Linked DNA regions of Homo sapiens: all the other regions are linked to region 4. Evidence: promoter capture Hi-C in 16 types of primary human blood cells and fetal thymus (Javierre and others, 2016). All regions are on one chromosome and are shown on one strand. The core of a region is centred on a gene start or on the middle of the fragment in contact, and the rest is flanking DNA. Distances in the headings are between cores, read along the strand shown.

Evidence for each region. Contacts are between HindIII fragments. The CHiCAGO score rates a contact against its expected background, and 5 or more counts as called.
Region 1: a fragment that was not itself captured here is called in contact with the fragment with the promoter of GABARAPL2 in region 4 in 4 of 17 cell types (naive B cells, total B cells, total CD8 T cells and 1 more); the score reaches 11.3 in naive B cells.
Region 2: a fragment that was not itself captured here is called in contact with the fragment with the promoter of GABARAPL2 in region 4 in 1 of 17 cell types (monocytes); the score reaches 5.7 in monocytes.
Region 3: a fragment that was not itself captured here is called in contact with the fragment with the promoter of GABARAPL2 in region 4 in 1 of 17 cell types (naive B cells); the score reaches 5.1 in naive B cells.

What each region holds. Positions count from the first base shown.
Region 1 is chr16:75,756,135-75,758,937 of GRCh38, reverse strand. No RefSeq gene overlaps it. Among named protein-coding and RNA genes, the nearest start is that of CPHXL, 31 kb to the right of the region's middle. RefSeq lists an enhancer at 625-674. The HindIII fragment of the contact is 932 bases long and covers 1,040-1,971 here.
Region 2 is chr16:75,374,082-75,376,807 of GRCh38, reverse strand. The region is part of intron 5 of CFDP1 (craniofacial development protein 1); the gene reads left to right. Among named protein-coding and RNA genes, the nearest start is that of CFDP1, 58 kb to the left of the region's middle. RefSeq lists an enhancer at 1-201. The HindIII fragment of the contact is 4,084 bases long and covers 1-2,726 here.
Region 3 is chr16:75,393,754-75,396,453 of GRCh38, reverse strand. It overlaps CFDP1 (craniofacial development protein 1), which reads left to right. Exons shown (of 7, transcript NM_006324.3): 5 at 1,245-1,364. Among named protein-coding and RNA genes, the nearest start is that of CFDP1, 38 kb to the left of the region's middle. The HindIII fragment of the contact is 193 bases long and covers 1,222-1,414 here.
Region 4 is chr16:75,565,022-75,567,721 of GRCh38, reverse strand. GABARAPL2 (GABA type A receptor associated protein like 2) reads right to left here and starts at 1,343. Exons shown (of 4, transcript NM_007285.7): 1 at 1,202-1,343; 2 at 815-870. The coding sequence starts at 1,235. RefSeq lists an enhancer at 128-881 and a silencer at 871-1,280. The HindIII fragment of the contact is 5,212 bases long and covers 1-2,700 here.

The DNA.
Region 1 (2,803 bases), core at 256-2,755, 190 kb before region 4:
TCATGTATCCCATAAATTTATACAACTATTATGTACTCACAAAAAAATTTATAAAATAAATTAAAAATTAAAAAGTATTTTAAAGAGGAACACCAAGCTGTGACTCATGGGAGACCCAGCATTCCTCCCAAGGTCAGGATCCCAGGAGAAAGAGGCCTCCCTCAGGTCAACTCCACCCTGACTCAACAGATCCTTCACAAGGTCCACAAAGAGCATGACCTGATGCTCCTGGTGCTGGCTGCCACAGCTCAGGACCTTCCTTCTATTCAACATGACCACTAGACCACAGTTCCACTGGTCCAGGCCCTGGTCCTCCACCTCCTCCCCTTGTCAGACCTCAGATGTTTAGAGAGTCTTAAAGGGACAGGTCCTAAGAAAAGAAACCTCTGCTCTTCCCCTGTTCCAGAAATCCAGGACACAATTGCCTAGGAATCCTTTTCACCAGGGAGCTTCCCTGGCTGGACACATCCTCCCCATTCTCCTCTGGCCACAAGAAATGTTGGACACCAAGCACTGTCCACTCAGCCTGAAAACGAAAGTGAGTCACCCCTGGATAGATCCCACCTCCCACTGAGCATGCTACTACACAACCACAACCACAAGAGCCCTTTTCCTCTGCTCTACAATAATTTTCATATTTTCTATTTTAGTTTTATTGCCAGTGAGTGATTATATCATGTATAAGATGAAAAAAGACAGGATTCTGCTTCATAATGTGCTCTGCCTGTAGATTATTTCAATAACAACACTAATAAATTAATTACTTCCATTTTATTCTATTTGTAAGTAGCATAATTACAGTTTTATGTTGTTTTTAGCAAAGCCTCTAAAATAATTCAGGAAAACAGCAACTATTTTATTCCAACTTACTTTTTAAATAATTTTATTTGTTTCTCTATTGGTTTTATTGCCATAATTTAATGTATTAATAATTACACATCTCGAAAGAAGACCTGATAGGATTACAATGTTTAGGATTGCAGTTTTAAAATGTGCATGATGTAAATGCAAATTATATTTAACCCTGAGAGCACAAGCTTCCTTCTCACCCCAAACTCCCTTGGGGTGTCCACCGGGAAGCCACCTTAACCTTGACTCTGAAGGGTGTCTCAAGTGGGTTTACAGGTCAAAGCCAACACTCTTCAGTGAGGACCAGCCCCAGACAAAATTATGTGAACACTTTTCGAGGATCCCTGATTCTCTTCCCTGTTCTGTGTCCTCTCTGCCCCATCACAAGCCTGGACTGAGAGTTGGAAGGACCACAAAGGCTAAGTAATCAACCCTTTCCCTATCTCCTCCCTGAACTGTCTCACCTTTACGACTGTGAGGCCAATGTCAGCATTTAAAAACCATAAATAAGACCATGGGCCATGCTGCTCAAAGCCCTCCAGTGCCTACAACTTACACTGAGACTCAAATCTATGCTCTCCTGGCCCATGAGGTTGTCCATGCCCTGGTCCTTGCAGGTGTATACCTACCCAAGCACCTCCTGTGACTCCACTGACCACGATTTTGTCCAGTTAGCATGGCAGGCTCACTAAGTCTCAGAATTTTGCACTGGGCATTTCCTCTGCCGAGAATACCTTTACACCACATATGTGGTGGCTGCCTCCTTCATTTAGATACCAACTCTAATCACGTCTTCTTAAAGTGCCCTTTCCTGACCACTGTAGCTTAGTGATGGTGCTTCCTCATCCCTCTCTGATATGGTTAGGCTCTGTGATCCCACCCAAATCTCATCTTGAATCCCCCTTGTAATCCCCATAACCCCATGTGTTAAGAGAGAGACCAGGTGGAGGTCATTGATTCATGGGTGCAGTTTCCCCCATACTGTTCTCATGATAGTAAGTGAGTTCTCACGAGATCCGATGGTTTTATAAGTGGTAGTTCTTCCTGTATTCACTATCCCTCCTGCCACCTTGTGAAGAAGGTGCCTTGCTTCCCGTTCACCTTCCACCATGATTGTAAGCTTCCTGAGGCCTCCCCAGCCATGCAGAACTCAGAGTCAATTAAACCTCTTTCTTTTATAAATTACTCAGTCTTGAGCAGTTCTTTATAGCAGTATGAGAACGAACTAACACATTTTCTATTCCTTTGGTCCGATTTATTACCTCATAGCACTCATCCTTTCTGAATCATCATATTTCTGTGTTTATTCCTTGTGTATTTTCTGCATCATCCTCTGCACCATATGGGCTGGTGTGGCAGAGAGATTATCTTACTCCCTCTGGGTAGCACAAGACAGCCACTCATTAATGCAGTTTATATAGAAGGCAGGGGAAGCTCAAGTTTGTGGGAAAAGAGGAAAGAGGTGTTAAGGAAAAAGACATGGTAGGATAGCCACTGGCCTCCTGCACCACAGTGTTGAGCAGGGAAGACCTTTGGTGCTTTTGTGTTAATGGAAAAGCTACTGGTCCTCAGAGGCTGAGATTATTTCACTGACTTGGATTGTCCTTAACAATACAAAGGACCTGCAAGTGCTTAACAATCAGCTCTTCCCTGGGTGTCATCGATAATATTCCTTAGGCCCACAACTCACAAAACACAGGATTCCTCTCCCCATCCCATTTATAAAACTGGACTCGGGGTTGGAAAAGACCTCAGACACCAAGCTGCCAGCCTTCCTGTGTTGCCCCCTCTGATATGGTTTGGCTCTGTGTCCCCACCCAGATCTCATCTCAAATTGTAATCCCCATGTGTTGAGGGAGGTAAGTGATTGGATTATAGGGGCAGTTTTCCCCATGCTGTTCTTGTGATAGTGAATAGATTCTCACTAGATCCAATGGTTTTATAAATGGTAGTT
Region 2 (2,726 bases), core at 83-2,582, 190 kb after region 4:
CCAATGGTAAACTGACATAGCACACTGGTGGGTGTGTCTTACAGAAAGCCGCTTCTGCCCCATACCTGTTTTAGCTAGTCATCAATTTGGTTTGGTATCCAAGCCCTGCCTCTGGAATCCTGTCCTGCCTACTACTTCATAGCCACTATCCAAGATAAGGTATAGTATGATTCCGTCACTCCAGAAAGTTCCCTCATGCCCCTTTCCAGTTGCTTTTGCCCTATGCTCTTTGCCCCAGGCAACTACTGATTTTTATCATGATAGATTAGTTTTGCTTTTCCAGAACGTCATGGAAATCAAAGCATACATTTTTTAAATTTTTGTGCCTGGATTCTTTTACCTACAGTGAAAGAACATGTATTTGAGACTTATCATGTTGCTGTGTATATCAGTGGTTCATTGCTTTTTATAAATTGTTCATATATACCACAGTTTATCCATCTATCCTGCTGATAAACGTATGGGTTATTTCCAAATCTTTTTGAAGACATATGTTTTTATTTATCTTGGGTACCTAAATACCTAGGAATGGAATTGCTAGGTCATGGAGTAGATGTGTGCTTAATGTTTTTGTTTTGGTTTTGATTTGGTTTTTCTGAGACAGGGTCTTGCTCTGTCACTCAGGCTGGAATGCAATGGCATAATCACAGCTCACTGCAGCCTTGAACTCTGTGGCTCAAGAGATCTTCCCACCTCAGCCTCTCGAGTAGCTGGGACTACAGGTGCACACCACTATGTCTGGCTAATTTTTAATTTTTTTGTAGAGATGGGGTCTCCCCATGTTGCAGGCTGGTCTCAAACTCCTAGGCTCAAGCAGTCCTCCTGCTGCAGCCTCCCAAACTGCAAGGATTATAGGCATGAGCCACAACGCTCAGTCTTAATGTTATAAGAAACTGCCAAACAGTTCCTCAAGATGGTTGTACCATTTTATATTTTGCCAGTGATGTATGAGGGTTCTACTTGGTCCATACGTATCCTTGTTCACATGTGATGTTGTCAGTCTTTTTTTTTTTTTTTGAGATGGAGTCTCGCTCTGTCGCCCAGGCTGGAGCACAGTGGCATGATCTCAGCTCACTGCAACCTCCACCTCTGGGGTTTAAACGATTCTCCTGTCTCAGCCTTGGAGTAGCTGGGACTACAGGTGGATGCCACCACACCTGGCTAATTTTTGTATTTTTTGTGGAGATGGGGTTTCATCATATTAGTCAGAGTGGTCTTGAACTCCTGACCTGAGGTGATCCACCCGCCTCGGCCTCCCAAAGTGCTGGGATTACAGGCATGAGCCACCGCGCCCAGCCTTGTCAGTCTTTTTTATTTGGGTAAGTGTGAAATGGTATCTCCTCTGATTTTAGTTTGCATTGCTCTGAAAACTAATAATAATGACATCTTTTCATGTGTAAAGTGACTCTTCCAATCTTACCCATTTTTATTGGGTTGTTTTATTCTGTTATTGGTTTATAGGAGTTCTTCTTATATTCTGAATATAGATAGTTTGTCAGATGTAAATGCTAAGAATTTTTCTTAGTGTTTGTCTTGCTTATTCATTTTTTTGGTGGTGTGTTTAGATGAGCAGAGTTTTTAATTTTGATATTCAGTTCGTCTTTTACAGTTAGTGCTTTTTGTGTCCTAAGAAATCTGCCTATAAGGTTGAGAAGATTTTGCCTTTTTTTAATGGTCCTGGCTTTTATGTTTAGGTTTTTTTTGTACCTTGAATTAATTTTCATATATGGACACATTTAGGTTTTTTTTTTAGAAACATAGAAGCAATATATGCGTGTTCTTCTAAAAATTCAAGCAACACAGAGATATAGAAGACAAAATGAAAGTTAATAATTTGGTGGGGTTTTTGTAAGGTCTCCACTGTTCAGTAGAGTAGTCACTAGCTATATGTGGCTGTTGAACACTTGAAATGCCACCAGTCTGAATTGAGATGTGCTATAGGTATAAATACACACTAAATTTTGAAGAATTAGTAAGAAAAAATAAGCAGTCAATTTTTATTTCAGTTCCATTGTTGAAACAGTAACATTTCTGACATATTGGGTTAAATGTATTAAAAACAATTTCAGTTGTTTCTTTTTATATTTAATAGGGCTAAAATATGTTTTTAAACTAGGTATGTGGTTCCCATTTTATTTCTGTGTGTTTTTTTTTTAAGAGATGGGGTCTCACTATGTTGCCCAGGCTGGTCTCAAACTCCGGGGATCAACTGATCCTCCCTTCTCAGCCTCCCAAAGTGCTGGGACTACAGGTGTGAGCCACTATGCCCCGCCCATTTTATTTCTATTTGACAGCTCTGTCCTAGACCTTTCCCTAAGCATTTAGTAATCTATGTATATGAATGTGTATCTGTATGAGATACTTTTCTGTTCACATATAAGTGTTTTTTATTTATATAAATGGAGTAATCTAAGCCTATTTTCCTGAAGTTTGTATTTTTTGCTTGAAAATACAAAAATACATATACTAACATATTTCATCTTATTGCCTATACATTTATCTGATTCTTGTTAATGGCTAGTATAGTGTTCTACTTTGAATATTCTATAATTTATTTTATTTTATTTTATTTTGAGACAGTCTCGGGAGTGCAGTGGCGCGATCTCGGTTCATTGCAACCTCCACCTCCAGGGTTCAAGTGATTCTCATGTCTCAGCCTCCCAAGTAGCTGGGACTATAGGCACCCACCACCACGCCTGGCTGATGTTTGTATTTTTAGTAGAGAT
Region 3 (2,700 bases), core at 69-2,568, 170 kb after region 4:
AATTCTCCTGCCTCAGCCTCCCTAGTAGCTGTGATTACAGGCGCCTGCCACTATGCCTGGCTAATTTTTTGTATTTTTAGTAGAGACAGGGTTTCACCATGTTGGCCAGGCTGGTCTCAAACTCATGACTTCGTGGTCCGCCTGCCTTGGCCTCCCAAAGTGCTGGGATTACAGGCATGGGCCACTGTGCCTGGTCTCCTCAAATTTTTTTTTTTAACTCTTGTTTTTCTCCTTGAAATAGTGCCAACCTAGGCATTATTTCCCAATTCTATAACCTATATTCCCAGTATTCCATCTCCCCATCTCAGCTTTCAAGGCTGAGTGCTAATCTGCATGTGGGGTGCAGTGTGAGGGCCTTTTTCAGCCTTCACATCAGTAAACCAGCATGGAGATTTAGTATTGACTGCTGCAGTGTGTTTCATGCTGAGAAGTCATGGAGGGGAGATGGACTGCATTTAAACAACATTCCTCAGGTGTTTTCGTTAACCTGGAAAGCCTAGGCAGGGATTAAACATTTCTCCTTCTCTCTTTATCTGAATTCTCAGGTACCATAAACACCTTTATTTGAACCTTTAGGACTCAGTTTTAGTGAAGATAATTGTTTCAGATTTGAAATTAGACAAAATTCTCAGTCATGTTGCTTTCGTCCATTCCCAAATTATTGCTAATTTAGCCAGTTTTAGGGGATTTTGTTTCATCTTTGGGTTGTTATAGGGTGATAAAATTTATACACATTGTTGTTTCATTTGTTAATTTTAGTGAGGGAAAATGTTTTTTTATTTTTTTTATTTTTTTGAGACGGTGTCTCGTGCTGTTGCCCAGGCTGGAGTGCAATGGCGTGATCTCGGCTCACTGCAACCTCTGCCTCCCGGGTTCAAGTGATTCTGCTGCCTCAGCCTCCCGAGTAGCTGGGACTACAGGCGCCCGCCACCACGCCCAGCTAATTTTTATATTTTTAATAGAGACGGGATTTCACCATGTTGGCCAGGATAGTTTCGATCTCTTGACCTTGTGATCCGCCTGCCTCGGCCTCCCAAAGTGCTGGGAGTACAGGCGTGAGTCACCACGCCCGGCTGGGCAAATGTCTTTATTGAAAGTTATAGTAAACTTTTATCATAATGCTGAGCGTCCAGAATTTATTGGAAGCCGAGTGGATCTTTTTCTAGTTGTCTTTATTCCCTTTTCTAGCTTGTTTCTTTCTCTTTATTCTTCTTGTAAGCTTGATGTCTTTTTCCTTGGCACAGGGTAACTAAGGAAGTGGATGCTACATCTAAAGAGGCCAAATCCTTCTTCAAGCAGAATGAGAAAGAAAAACCACAGGCTAATGTTCCTTCAGCTCTGCCATCACTCCCTGCCGGGTCAGGGTGAGTATTTGAGTCTCACTCCCTGATGTACTTGGCACGTTGGAGAAGCTTTCAGTGCAAATACCTACTTTCGCTGCAGATCAGACTCCTTGCCTGAGAGAGAGAATTATGATGCTGCTTTGCCTTTGCTGCAATATTTACCAGAATGGAAGATGCAAAGGAAAATTAGCCATAACTTTCTCAGGAGGATTGCTTGAACCCAGGAGTTTGTGACCAGCCTGGGCAATACAGTAAGACCCTGTCTCTTAAAAAAAAAAAAATTAGCTGGGCATGGTGGCTTGCACCTCTGTCCTAGCTACTGTGGAGGCTGAGGCAGGAGGATCCCTTGAGCCCAGAAGGTTGAGGCTGCAGTGAGCCGTGATTGTGCCACTGCACTCCAGCCTGGGTGACAGAGAGATCCTGTCTCTTAAAAAAAAAAAAAAAAAAAAAAAGCGAAGAAAATTAGTTGTAGCTTTCTTATTTGTTGCCAGCCTAAAAGAAGTCCTAGTTTATAGTATTGAACACAAAGCTGAACGTGTAAATTTTACATTTAAAAATAATACTTTTCAAATGAAAATATCAGCCTTCTGCAGAACTTTTCATGAAGATTTGCGATGAACACTCACTCCCATCCTCTGTGATCTTAGAGGAACATAAAAAGATCAAAGATGATTTACAAATAGTTTTCTTAACACATTGTCAGGAACTTAATGGTTTTCCTCCCTTCATATTTTTCATATTACTTGAGTTATTTTTAGCTGAAGGCTAGAATTCTTTCTTTTTGGAAGAAGTAAAAATTCTTTTCTTAACCTAAATGTGAGAAGTAAAGTATTACAGTAAATCAGAGAGGCTTAAGACTGTTGCCACAGGGAAGTGAACATAGACCCATACCATGGATAGCCCTGACTACCCACCTGACTCCTGTGGGGAGTTCTGCATAGTCTCCTACAGTGGCTTCTGTGGCCCTTCAGTCAGATATTGTCCCCTCTTCCTTCCCTCCTGGAGCATACCTGTCATTGCTATGAGCAGTAAAGTTTTGTTTCACATTTTTTTTTTGAGGTGGAGTCTCGCTCTGTCACCCAGGCTGCAGTGCAGTGGCGCAATCTCGGCTCACTGCAAGCTCCGCCTCCCGGGTTCATGTCATTCTTCTGCCTCAGCCTCCTGAGTAGCTGGGACTACAGGTGCCAACACGCCCGTCTAATCTTTTGTATTTTTAGTAGAGACGAGGTTTCACTGTGTTAGCCAGGATGGTCTTGATCTCCTGACCTCGTGATCTGCCCTCCTTGGCTTCCCAAAGTGCTAGGATTACAGGCGTGAGCCACCGGGCCCGGCCCCACTTTTTTTTTTTTTTTTTTTT
Region 4 (2,700 bases), core at 94-2,593:
CTCCAGGACCCCAGAATGGATCCACCTTCACACTACAGGAAACACTACTGTGTTCCCAAGGAACACAGGAGACAAGAATGGATGGACTAATTGGAATGCCTGGAATTTTAGCCAGCCAAGAACCAAGTTCTTCATTTGGCCTGTTGCTCCTCTCTGAACAAGTTTCAAATCCGTCCCTCCTACTCCTTTCCCCAGACAAATTATTCACAAGCAAAGAGCTACAATAACAGGCCTTAATGTCCATTAAAAATTAATAACGATTACAAAACTATCTCCCCAACCATGGAAGAAATATAACATTATATTTATTATTGACTAAGAAGAAAATATGGCAGAAGGGGTTTTCAGCGGCTTTTCACATTATTTTGGTCAGGCAAGGATGACAGGGTCAAGGTGAGATAACGGAGCTAGAAGTTAGGTAAAGATGGAGACAAAGTAAAAGATGAACGTCCTGAGACTCAAGTACCACTTCCAAGACCAAAATGACAGTCTCCCTCCACCACCATTCCCAAAAGTGGCAGTGACCTGTTGCCCTGTCCTAGAACATCGTTCCTTACATAATTGGCCAGGGAGCCCCGAGGCTGCAGACGGCTCGCTGGCCTAGATCGGGAGATTCAGCACTGAGGCACCCTGAACAGCACCAGCCCGAGCCCCTCACGCCCCGGCCCTGGGCGGCCTCATCCCGGTCTGGCCCGTCAGCTACTGTAACTGGGACTGGAACCTCAACTTGTCAACTGTTGAATGGCCTGGGGCCTATCACGGGTCCCAGACGACAGAGGTGACAGCGAGGTGAGGGGGCGGAGAGTCCACTCACCGGAACCCTGTCGGGATATTTCGCTCGAATCTTCGCGGACTCCACGCATCTGTGTTCTGTGGGAGAAACAAACGGGGCTGACGGCCGCGCCTGCCCACCGGTCGGTTCCCGGCCCCCGGCCCTCCTCCTCCTGCGCCCTGCGTACAACCCAGGCCCTGGTTCCGGCGTCCCCGGGGCCGCGGTCCTGTCCCCTACTAGCTCCCAGCAAGGCCCGCGGAGGGTGACATGGGGTCAGGGGGCCGCTGCCCGAGGCACCAGGGCATGGGCGACTCCAGCCCGCAGCAGGGCATCCGCCCCGCTCCACTCGGCCCAGGGCCGCCCGAGTGGGGGAGGGGGCCCACCCGCCGCCCCAGCCCCCAGCAGCCGGGCCGACGACCAAGTGCTTACCCAGCGAGTGGTCCTCCTTGAACATCCACTTCATGGCGGCGGCGGGAAGGGGACGGAACCGGCTCGCGGAGCCGCGGAGCTCAGCGCACCGAGCACAACAACAACGACGGCGGCAGCGGCAGCGGCAGCGACGGCGGCGACTACACGGCAGGCGGGACTTCCGGCTGTCGGAGCCTAGCAACCGGCCGGGGGCGGGGCTTCCGGCGCCATTTGTCAGGGCGCCACGCCAAGGGGCGGGGCCGCACGTAAAGGGGCGGGGCCGCGGAGGACCCCTTTGGGGGCTCCTGGGCTGCGGTGGCGAAGAAGTTGGTTATGGGGACGTCTGTGAGCAGTATCTGCGACATTGCTCGCAGGAATGTTCGGGGAACTGGTGACAGGAGTGGGGTCTCGGGAGCGTTGGTGGCGGAAAACGTCTGGCTGATAGTGTAGGGCTCTTACTGAGGGCTGTTTGGGGGTGTGGCTGATAGCTGAGGGCTCTTAGAGCGGTTCATAGGGGAAGTCTGGGGAATTGGTGACAAGAACGGTCTTTAGGGGTAAGAATGACATAAGGAGGGCTTTCTAGAGCTTGGCGATAACAAGGGAGCTGTTTAGGGCGTTGACAGTTTGGGGAGTATTGCTCGGAGTGGTGACAGGTTGGGGGCTCATTATGGGAGGGGAGGGTGTTTGAGGACACTGTTGGAAGCGGCACTGAGGACAACCCGGAGGTCCGTATTAGGGACAGCCGTAGTAGGTTGTCTTGGACCTAGAAATTGAATTTAAACAAATCCCGTTTTCTTCCTTTATTCGTGAATAAATATTTGAATAAACATTTACGAAAAGGTATCACAAATGCACATTTGAGGCGGGGTACGGTGGCTCACGCCTGTAATCCCAACACTTTGGGAGGCCGACGCGGGTGGATCACCTGAGGTCAGGAGTTGAAGACCAGCCTGGCCAACATGGTGAAACCCCGTCTCTACTAAAAATACAAAAATTAGCCAGGCATGGTAGTGGGCGCCTGTAGTCCCAGCTCCTCGGGAGGCTGAGGCAGGAGAATCGTTTGAACCAGGGAGGTGGAGGTGGCAGTGAGCCGAGATCACACCACTGCACTCCAGCCTGGGCAACAGAGCAAGACTCCGCCTCAAAAAAAAATGCACATTTGAGGAGTGTAACATCACTGATCACAGACCCCTTAATTTTAACTGGCAGAGGAGTTAGAGGTGACTGTCAGACTCGGAGAATTCCCCTGAGAGCTGGTCATGAGATGGGTTTCCTTATTTGGCTGTGGGAGTGGTTTAGCAATCACAGCCTGAGCTGTGTGTGTGTCACCTGCCCGGACATATGCTTTGAGGTTCTCCAATCAGTGATGTAATGCCTTTTTTCCAAGCAGACTCATCAAGGCAGTCTGGTCTGGGTCACCATCTGTTTATAAGCTGCTGAACATGTAGCAGGAATATTCACTTAATTGGGCACATGAACCCTGCCACGTGCTTGTGATTCTGATGCACCTGTAAAGCCTG